Regions from separate parts of the Homo sapiens genome. Here region 1 is linked to region 2. Evidence: promoter capture Hi-C in 16 types of primary human blood cells and fetal thymus (Javierre and others, 2016). All regions are on one chromosome and are shown on one strand. The core of a region is centred on a gene start or on the middle of the fragment in contact, and the rest is flanking DNA. Distances in the headings are between cores, read along the strand shown.

Region 1 (5,685 bases), core at 2,824-5,323, 180 kb before region 2:
ATAACTCATTCCATCCTCACAAGCTGTCTTACAGATGAGGAAAGCGAAGCACATAGAGTAACTTGCCCAAGATCTCACACCCAGTAAGTGGTAGGAAACCGTGGGTCTTTGTGAGCCACTTTGGGTTTCCAAAAAAAGAAGGGAAATAAATCCAGAAATTATTCTACTTATTTGAAAAAGCAGGAGTACACCTATGGGAAGAAGCTTTTAAAGGGAAGAAGGGTTTCAGTTACAGATTTATAATTTACTTTTGAATTGGGAAATATGATATAAAGACTTCAGTGCCCACATCAAAGATTTTTGTGTTCCACTCTACACCCACCTTCCCTGGCGTGGGATTTCCTCAAGTGAGAAAGTGGACCAAGCAAACTAATTTTGTAATGTTTGCTGGTTAGAACAGAGGAGTTTGTTCTATTGACACTGGAAGTCTAAGAACCTCTTGTCATCAGAAAACTGGATGAAAGAGCTATAAGTACTACCCTTTACTTACTTCCTACTAGATTATGTGACTCAGCCTTGAAAGAAGCAGGTGGAAGCTGGACATTGAAAGCCTTAACATTAGCACTGATTTTCAATAGATTGTTGATTGAAGTTCGGGATTTCTTTTTTCCCTATTCACCAAAAATGGGTTGGAGTGGAAGAGAGTGTTTCTCAAACTGTTTTGGATGCTTAAGAGTGTGTGCAGTTTAAGAACTTTGCAATGATGGAGAAGCAAGCTGAGGGATAAAGGACTGCAAGGTACTATTTACTGACCTAGCTGGAGCAGTGTTGGTCAGTGTGATGATAGTTAAAGAGACTGTTCCACCCAAGGGTAGGTACAGGCAGCAAAGAACATCTACTTAGATTTCTGAGTTCATATCATACTTTTATAGTACTGAGCTAATCTGGTGACTGACTGCATAGCAGATAATGTACTCTCAACCTGCAGTTTGCCTCTGTCTTCATGCATTCCACTTTTGAGACAGAAAGAGTCCATCCTATTGGCTAGAAACATAATTTCTATCCACAAAGTATATTTGAGGTGAGAGGTCCAGTTTTTGTGTCAGAAGGGAACTTGCTAACCTACCCAGGAGCAGCTATTCTAGATTAAACTCATGGACTAAATCCAGATATGATAATAATAGTAAATATATGTATCACTATGTTCCAAACACTTACCTAAGATCTGTATTTGTGTTAGCTCAGCTACACCATTATCTCCAGAGAGGTAAAGTATCTTGCCTTGAGGCTATACAGTAAGTAGCAGAGATAGTGAGATTTCAAACCCAGGCATCCGGCACCAGAGTCTGCCTCTCAGCAATGATGGCTGAATGGCAGAACTTAACTTACCCTGTTACAGGCACTGTTATCAGGCAGTTCACCTGCATTCTCTCCCATTCAACTGCCCAGTCTCTGGGGCAGGAGGAAATGGGATTTTTAAAGGCTTTATTTAAACCTTTTTTGGTCAAGCATTTATTGTATACAAGTACTTTTGTCCTTGGTTAGACTGAGATTAAAATACATACATACACACACAGACACACACACACACACTTATTTTAAGAACGCAGGTTCCCAAAATCGAGTATACATCTGTAGATTGCAGATGTGTGCTTAAAATCAGTTTTTGAAACTACTTAGAAACAACCTGGACAAGTCAGATGAATCCAATTTCTTTTCTTAAATTTTTTAATTTTGAAAAATATGTATTTGTTTTGAGGATTCCCAGGGATAAATCCTATTTCTGACTCTTTCTAGTACCTTCTTAGGTCTCATCCTTATGTTTTTAACATATGCAGTATTTGCAAGTGTATCATTCCCAGCAGCTATATAGACCTAGGCCAAGTTAATATTTCAGAGGAAATGAAACCCAGACTCAGGTAGCAGTATTCTTCTTTAATGCAGCTGGCACTTCTGCCATCTTGGCTGTGTGAGTCAGTGCTATTTGGAGTTAAGCTTAACTTGTGCCCTAAGCTTGTACTGAAACTATAAAGACCTTAACCTCTGTACTCCTCTTCATCCCCTTGATTCTTGGAAAAAATCCAGATCTTAACAACCTTAGTCAAGATTTAAGGTACTTCCTGTTGTTTTTGGAGCCAAAATATTTCATGACTCATAAGTGGGCCTTAAAGAACAGGACTAAATCATTGAAGAAACTGCAGAAGTGCAGTGAAAATGGTGCAGTTCCCAATTCAGAAGTGGGAGGTAGTTCCTCTCTTAAGGGTCATTCCTAGTTCAGAGATGGTAGGTGGTTTTTCTGTTTAGGGTCACTCCTCTGTTCAGTGTTAAGTGGTAGTTCCTCTTAAATTCCATAGTCTGCTTACTCGGAAGTGAGTAGGCTTCTGGAATCAGTCTTATTTTATTTTATTTTATTTTTTGAGACAGAGTCTTGCTCTGTCACCCAGGCTGGAGTGCAGTGGCGCAATCTCGGCTCACTGCAACCTCTGCCTCCCCAGTTCAAGCGATTCTCCTGCCTCAGCCTCCTGAGTAGCTGGGATTACAGGTGAGCACCACCATACCTGGCTAATTTTTGTATTTTTATTAGAGACGAGGTTTCACCATGTTGGTCAGGCTGGTCTCGAACTCTTAACCTCTTGATCCACCTGCCTTGGCCTCCCAAAGTGCTGGGATTATAGGCATGAGCCACCATGCCCACCCTTGAATCAGCCTAATTTTAAAAGCCAAGACTGATATTCTGACACTTTTCATCGTTTTACCTATACCTTTAATAGTGCTGCTTATTTCTCTAGGAAGTCAAGTTGGGGTGAAAGAAAGAAGGGATTCCAGGAAGACAAAATACTGGGCAAAGGATTTACCAGCAGTTTGGGAGAAAGGGTACAAAATCTGGATAGAAGATACTTCATCACTGAAAATCACAGAGGATATAGGGGTTGAACCTCTACGATAGAAAGAGAATCATGGTGAGGGGCAAAGAGGCGATGCTGAATTAAGAAACCTGAAAAGTTGAGTTTGAGACAGACCTTCATCCAGAGTCCTCAAGTAGTTCTCAGATGCAAATTTCCTTGGGGTGTCCTTCCATTCATCAACATGGCTGCGTATTTAAAGCTTCTTTCAGGTTCCGGTAACAAGGGCTTCCAAGTCAGGCCCACCCATTGAGTCTTCGATCTGCCCCTTCCAGGCAATGTGACCTTGGACAAATCTCAGTAATCTTTGCTCTTCTGGTTTCTAACCCCTAAAACAAGGATGATAAATACCATTGTTGTGAGATGTTTTCTTCAGATGCCTCTGCTTTCCTTCATTCTTGCTAGTCAAGGTACAATTTCCATAGAGTCTAAAAATGAATGATTCAGGAACTAAAAACTCTTGAAGCCAGATTCAAGAAAGGTTCAGTCTGTTTTGGGATCTGGCAGACTTTCCAAGCAATAATAGCAGACTCCCTCAATCAGTGTTTGCTCATGTAGAACTTGAGGTAGAAAGATGTTGTAATTCATTTCTGATCTTCCTCCGCGGAGTTTCAGGCTCTACATTTGCTTTCTAGCTGTTTCCGCATAAAGTGCGGTTTTTGGCCAGGTGCGGTGGCTCATGCCTGTAATCCCAGGACTTTGGGAGGCCAAGGTGGGCAAATTGCTTGAGCCTAGGAGTTTGAGACCAGCCTGGGCAACATGGTGAAACCCTGTCTCTACAAAACACAAAAATTAGCCGGGTGTGGTGGTGCATGCCTATTGTTCTAGCTACTCAGGAGGATGGAGTAGGAGGATCACTTGAGCCTGGGACGGTTGAGGCTGCAGTGAGCTGAGATTGTGCCATTGCATCTAGCCTGGGTGACAGAGTGAGACCCTGTCTCAAAAAAAAAAAACAAAAAAAAACCACAAAAACAAAACAGGGAGGGTGCAATGACTCACGCCTGTAATCCTAGCACTTTGGGAGGCCTAGGCAGGCAGACCACGAGGTCAGGAGATCAAGACCATCCTGGCCAACATAGTGAAACCCTGTCTCTACTAAAATACAAAAACTTAGCCGGGCATGATGGCACTCGCCTGTAGTCCCAGCTACTCAGGAGGCTGAGGCAGGGAATGGTTTGAACCCGGGGGGTGGAGGTTGCAGTGAGCTGAGACTGTGCCACTGCACTCCAACCTGGTGACAGAGCAAGACTCCATCTCAAAAAAAAAAAAAATGTAGTTGTTCCTGTAGTGAACAACTTTCATCAGATTTACATGCTAATCTATATGCTAGAAAAAGAAAGGGAAAATAGGAATATTTTCATCCAAAGGAAGGTTGAAGCAAACGTCTTCAAGGTTTAAGTTTAAACTGTGACCCTTACCATTAAGAATGCGAGATAAGACTCTAGGAATGTTTGGAATTTCTCTGATTGAAGTTTAATTCCTTTAATATGATCATTTATGGATATGGTCTTGATATTATTTAGTTTGACAAATATTAACTTTCTCTTGATCAAAAAACCAACTAGCTTCTTTATCATCTGAATTAAAGGCTATGATTTTAGCAGCAAGATGAATCAAGATTCTGACTTCTAATTGGGCATTATTCTTAAAGATTCCATCCTGGGAAACAGTCCGAGGAGAATGAGTTGACCCTAAATGGGAGAGCAGAGCACCTTCCCATTAGGTGGTGGGCAGCCTAGCTGGCTTATTTCTCCTCCTATTCTCCTATTCCAATTCATTTTTCTTTTGCAGGTTCTGTGGATGGAGTTATAAAGGAAGTGAATGTGAGCCCATGCCCCACCCAACCCTGCCAGCTGAGCAAAGGACAGTCTTACAGCGTCAATGTCACCTTCACCAGCAGTGCGTAAAAGTGGCTCTTAACTCAAATTCATGTTACAGCATAACCTAAATATCAAGTGTTGGAATAAGCATGGGAATGGAGGGGAGGGGAATTGGCAGTCATGAATTTTATGATTTCTTTTGCACCTCATGCAAAGCTAGGGTTCACTGTGCCCTTGGACACCCTTCTCATGCAGGGTCCATGGCTCCCAGACTCCCTTTAAGCAAACAGGGAGATGTCCATGTGTTCACAGGTTAGAGAAGACAGCTTGGCTTTTCTGTCTTGACCCATATTGCATAGTAGGCTATGATGGGAATGTCAGCTCTGTTTAGCTACAGACTGCAGAGTATTAGTATGGACCCCAATTCTTTAAGCTTTGGAACTCCTCCAAAATGTTGTTTTAAGCAGTAATGCCTTTCAGCTATTAAGTCTACATCCCACCTGAAAATAAAGGTGCAACTAATACTTAACAGCCTCCTTAAGATTTAGGGAACCCACTGGGGACCCAAGAAATAGCCAAGAAATCTGAGCTTTCTTCTCCAATATTCAAGAAATATCATTGGAACTTTTTGCTTTCTTGTACCACATCACTTTGAGATTTTTAAGAATCTAGACAAATGTAAAATCTTTTATTACTAAGCAGGGCATGTTCCTTGAATCTTTTCCTCATTTTCTGTCCTGTGAAACTAGACTAGACAGTCTAATAAGAAACCTCAAAGTTCCTGTCATCTTTTGTTCATAAGCCTAAAGACAGCTCTAAGTACTAGCTCCCTGTTTCCTCTCTGGACTATACCCTGGCCTCTCTATTGTTCCAAACCAAAAAAAAAAGCCTTCTGAACAAGTCATCCCCAACCCAGACAGAAGGAAAGAAACAGAACCAATTTTCTGGGTCTCCAAAATACCCTAATAACTCATAAGTCTGATTGCCCTCATTTTTTAATACCTTTATTCCTCCTGGCCATC
Region 2 (5,637 bases), core at 2,972-5,471:
AAAAAAAAAAAAAAAAAGGGCCACAACAGTTAAGAATGTATTACTTGATTTATTGTATACTAAGTGGTGGGCACAGAGCAATTCTCCTTATAAAGTTGACAATTAGCTTCACTCAGAACATTTTAAATAATGCACATTAAAACAAGTATTCATTTTACAAGTTGTTCTGCAATCTAAACATACAATAGCTTGGAGGACAATATTTAGAAAACAAAAGCCAATGTAAAAAGACAGATTAAAACAACTAGAGGCCAGGAGCGGTGGCTCCGCCCTGTAATCCTAACACTTTGGGAGGCTGAGGCAGAAGCATCGCTTGAGCTCAGGAGTTCTAGACCAGCCTGGGCAATATAGTGAGACCTCATCTCTATTTAAAAAAAAAAAAAAACTTAAAAATTAGCTAGGCATGTTGGCGCATACCTGTAGCCCCAGCTACTCAGGAGATTGAGGTGGGAGGAGTTGGAGACTGCAGTGAGCTGTGATTATTATCCCACTGCACTCTACCTGGACCACAGAGCAAGAACCTGTCAAAAAAAAAAAAAAAAACCACACATACACAGACACACACACACACACACACACAAACCAACTACACTAGAACAGTATAGGTTTTATATGGCTTGAATTTCACAGTTTTCTTAACTGCATCATCAGTATCAGAAATCTGTTCTTGGCCAGGTGCAGTGGCTCACATCTGTAATCCTAGCACTTAGGGAGGCAAAGGTGGAGGATCACTTGAGCCTAGGAATTTAAGACTAGCCTGGACAACACAGTGAGACACCTCCCCCCAACCCCTGCCTTCTCTACAAAAAAAATTTTTTTTAATTAGCTGTGTGTGATGCCAGCACCTACAGTCCCAGCTACTAAGGAGGCTGAGGTGGATCACTTGAGCCCAGGAGATGGAGGCTGCGGTCAGCTGTGATCCCACCACTGCACTCCAGCATGGGCAACAGAGCAAGACTCTGTCTCAAAAAAAAAAAAAAAATATATATATATATATATATATATATATGTATATTTTTACATATATATATTTTACATATATATTTTTACATATATTATATATATATAATCTTTAAATTTAAATTTTAAAAAATCTGTTCCTTCAGCTGGCTTCTTTGCTCCAAATTCAAAGAAATACCTTCTCTTCCTGGTTTCATTTCACCTTCTGGATCCATCCAATATTATTTAATATCAATTACCCTTTAAAATCCCAAACACTGGCCCGGCTTGGTGGCTCACACTTGTAATCCTAGTACTTTGGGAGGCCAAGGTGGGCAGATCACTTGAGGTCAGGAGTTCAAGACCAGCCTGGCCAACATGGTGAAACCCTGTCTCGACATAAAAGACAGAACTTAGCCAGGCATGGTGGCGAGTGCCTGCAGTCTCAGCTACTCAGGAGGCTGAGGCAGGAGAATTGCTTGAACCTGGGAGGCAGAGGTTGCAGTGAGCCAAGATCGTGCCATTGCGCTCCAGCCTTGGGGGACAAGTCTAAAAAAAAATCCCAAACACTAATGTACCTCATTTTCCTAACCTGAAACATCATGTTATCATCTGTGCTGCTGCTGCTGTTCTCTTTGGAAGATGATAGAGCTCTTCAAGTTTCACCAGTCTTTTGCTTCTTTACAGGTCTTTCTGGAGCAACCTGCTTTTTCCTCTTTAACTTTTTGTCAACATCACTGTCAGAACCGCTGCCAGAAGAGCTTGAAGAAGTAAGTTCCTTTGATTTGGGCATTACTCTGCTCTGCTGCACTCCAGTAGCCTCCCGCTTGCTCACTGGTAACTCTGGTGTATTACTTCTTCTTCTTCTTTTTTTTTTTTTTTTTTGAAACAGTCTCACTCTTGTCACCCAGGCTGGAGTACAATGGCACAATCTCAGTTCAATGCAACCTCCGCCTCCTGGGTTCAAGTAATTCTCCTGCCTCAGCCTCCCAAGTAGCTGGGATTACATGCACCCGCCACCACACCTGGCTAATTTTTGTACTTTTAGTAAAGACGGGATTTTGTCATGTTGGCCAGGCTGGTCTTGAACTCCTGACCTCAGGTGATTTGCCTGCTTCGGCCTCCAAAAGCGCTGGGATTACAGGCGTGAGCCACCGTGCCCAGCCTGCTACTTCTTAAAAGTTTACAGTAATAGACAATGCTGAGGCACCCTGGGACAGTAATGCCACCGAATACCAAACTAGGACATTTTTGAGACTGAAAGGGGACAAGATCTGTAAACCTAGATTACCCTAGAGAGGTGACGTTGCTTGCTTTAATACTTTGGTTGCCTTATTAATTTTTCAAAAATTGCATCCTATTTTTTTGGTTTTCAAAATAAGAAAGACATACTTGAATAAAGTTATTTCCTCTTCAAAGTCTTTCTAGATTCCACTTTTCCCCATGCTGAGTTAAATGCCTTTCTCTTTGGTTCTGGGGCAGTGGTTCTCAATGCTAGGGGGTGGGGTAAAGCTGGAATTTTGGTCCTTTCTCCCCTAAGGGACATTTGGCAATGTTTAGAGACATTTTGGGATGCCTAGGTCAGAAGGAATGCCACCGGCATCTAGTGCGTAGAGGCCTGGGATACAGCTAAACATCCTACATTGCATAGGAAAGCCTACACAGCAAAGAATGATCAGGCCCCAAAACTTAATGGCGCCAAAGTTGAGAACCCCTGCTGTATGGTATGTTTGTCATAGCACTTCATAAAGACAGCTGTAGGCCGGGCACGGTGATTCACACCTGTAATCCCAGCATTTTGAGAGGCCAAGGTGGGTGGATCACCTGAGGTCGGGAGTTCGAGACCAGCCTGACCAACATGGAGAAACCACGTCTCTACTAAAAATACAAAATTAGCCGGGTATAGTGGTGCATGCCTGTAATCCCAGCTACTCGGGAGGCTGAGGCAGGAGAATCGCTTGAACCCGGGAGGCACAGGTTGCAGTGAGCCAAGATAGCACCATTGCACTCCAGCCTGAGCCACAAGAGCGAAACTCCGTCTAAAACAAAAACAAAAACAAAAAAAGGCCAGGAGCGGTGGCTCACTCTTGTAATCCCAACACTTTGGAAAGCCAAGGCGGGCAGATCACCTGAGGTTAGGAGTTCAAGACCAGCCTGACCAATATGGAGAAACCCTGTCTCTACTAAAAATACTAAATTAGCTGGGCGTGGTGGCACATGCCTGTAATCCTAGCTACTCGGGAGGCTGAGGCAGGAGGATGGCTTCAATCCGGGAGGCTGAGGTTGCCGTGAGCCGATATCGCGCCATTGCACTCTAGCCGGGGCAACAAAAGCAACACTCCGTATCAAAAAAAAAAAAAAAAAAAAAAAAATCTGTAATTGTCAACTGATTGACCTACCCAGCTAGACTGCAACTTTCATAAAGACAAGTGATACATGCATGTTGTAGAGTGTTTGGCTTGCAGTTGAAACTTAATAAGGATTGGAGGAAAGTGAGAAGACACATCCAGATTCAAATTTAGGGACCTGTGGGATCATGCTGTTTGGGTTTTTTTTGAGCCATTTCCCACCTCCCTTTGGGTACTAATCAGTCAACTGATAAGCATTTCATTCATTCAACTATCTATCTTATCTATCGATCATTATCATCTATTTATTTGTTTTTGAGACAGGGTCTCTCTTTGTCGCCCAGGCTGGAGTGCAGTGGCACAGTCACGGCTCACTGCAGCCTTGACCTTCCGGGCCCAAGTGATTCTCCTGCCTCAGCCTCCAGAGTAGCTCGGACCACAGGCGCTCGCCACCATCCCCGGCTAATGCTTTTGTCTTTTGTAAAGGCGGGGTCTTGCCATGTTGCCCAGGCTGGTCTTGAATTCCTGGGCTCAAGCGATCCTCCCGCCTTGGCCTTCCAAAGTGCTGGGATTACAGGAGTAACCCACCGGGCCCGGCTGGAAGCCTAATTTATACTTTTTTAAAGATCATGCTGGCTTCTCTGGGAGAATATGTAAAACATCTATTATACACAGAATCTAAAATACTTGCCATAAAGTAGTTACACTCTCGGATACCTATTGTCAAAAGGGAAGTCTCCCAGAAAATATGGGGGCGCTGTAGCCGCCGGGTCAGCCGAGTCCACTCTCTGGTACTTTTAGAGACGTCGGTCGCTTCCGGGAGAGTCCGCGTCTCCCGCACCTTCCTCTCTATCAAACGCCGTCTCTGTGGTAGCCGGGGCCCCGCCCCTCCTCGGACTCTACCCAGTACTGAACTAGGGGCAGCTGGGCTCCAGAGTCCCTCGGGTCTCAGGTCATGGCGGTCGCGGGGCCCGCGCCCGGAGCTGGCGCCAGGTAAGCAGGGCGGTCGGGGAGGAGGTTTGGGAGCAGGAGTTCCGGGCTGTAGGGAATGGGCTTTCCTGCCCTCCGTGCCTCGTCCGCCGCCCTGGCGCCCCCGTCTCGCCCCCGTGACTTCTGAGAGAAAGAGGAGCTCTCGAAGGGGCGTCCGCCCTCCCGCCGCTCTAGGCCGCTCCGCACCGGCCGCGGCCCCCTCCGTTCTTGGCCGGACTTGTGCCATCTCCTGCGGTGTGGGACCCTCACCCTCGCAACTGGCATTCTTTTTTTGAAAAGAAGAACCTCAGGTGCACAAAATTGAGTTGATCCTTCTCAGTTCTTGACACCCTGTGGGCCAATGCAAGGCTCCTTGTTTATTTTATCACTTCCTCTCTTCGTTCCTATTCCCAGACCCCTTTCACTCCCCTTTTCAGACAGCCACTCTGGTGTGTTATATAAGTGGCTTTACGGTCCACCTTGGGTAAATTTGTGCAAGTGTTACTTTGAAATCTATATAGCGGTTTCGAATTCTTCAATATAATATGCTGTGATTTTTCTTTAAACCTTTTTCCTCAACATTGTGTTTTTGAGTCCATCCATGCTAGTCATCTTGTTTTCACTTCTGAGTGCTTGCATGAGGGGTGCTGTGTGCATAGACTTATTCCCCTAGTGGTGGATAGATTTTTTTCTAGTATTAACACCCCCACAAGCCACACTGTAACGAATATTCTGGCAGTTGTCTCCTTGTGCATATTGTTGCATTTCTCTGGGTATCCACCCCAGAGTTGGGTCCTGGTCATATCTAATTTTGCTGGATTGTTCTTTGGAATGGTCACACTAGTTTATACTTCCCGACGGGCAGTGCATAAAGCTTCCTGTTTCCCGGTATCCCTCCATCGTTCAGTGGCGGCTGGTTTTGTAATGTTTATCAGTCTGGGGGGTGTAAGGTGGTATCCCATCGTGTACATTTTCTTTCTTTCTTTCTTTCTTTCTTTTGAGACGGAGTTTTGCTCTTGTTGCTCGGGCAGGAATGCAGTGGCATGATCTCGGCTCACTGCAACCTCCGCCTCGGGTTCAAGCGATTCTTCTGCCTCAGCCTCCTGAGTAGCTGGGATTACAGACGCGCGCCACCACACCCAGCTAATTTTTTGTATTTTTAGCAAAGATGGGGGGGTTGGCCAGTCTGGTCTTGAACTCCTGACCTCAGGTGATCCACCCGCCTCGGCCTCCCGAAGTGCAGGGATTACACTTCCCGACGGGCAGTGCATAAAGGAATTACAGACGTGAGCCACTGCTCCCGGCCTACATTTTCATGTGTTTATTAAACGTGGGTTTTCCCTTTTTTGAATTGCCTGTTTATATCCCTTCCCACTTCTCT

The links. Contacts are between HindIII fragments. The CHiCAGO score rates a contact against its expected background, and 5 or more counts as called.
Region 1: a fragment that was not itself captured here is called in contact with the fragment with the promoter of ABCD4 in region 2 in 1 of 17 cell types (endothelial precursors); the score reaches 5.8 in endothelial precursors.

Annotation. Positions count from the first base shown.
Region 1 is chr14:74,485,386-74,491,070 of GRCh38, reverse strand. It overlaps NPC2 (NPC intracellular cholesterol transporter 2), which reads left to right. Exons shown (of 5, transcript NM_006432.5): 2 at 4,635-4,742. Among named protein-coding and RNA genes, the nearest start is that of NPC2, 5.1 kb to the left of the region's middle. RefSeq lists an enhancer at 2,082-3,281. The HindIII fragment of the contact is 2,051 bases long and covers 3,048-5,098 here.
Region 2 is chr14:74,301,518-74,307,154 of GRCh38, reverse strand. ABCD4 (ATP binding cassette subfamily D member 4) reads left to right here and starts at 4,221. Exons shown (of 19, transcript NM_005050.4): 1 at 4,221-4,280. The coding sequence starts at 4,243. It also overlaps a transcript of VRTN not described here and the pseudogene SUB1P2. RefSeq lists an enhancer at 3,773-4,132 and a silencer at 4,393-4,472. The HindIII fragment of the contact is 30,195 bases long and covers 1-5,132 here.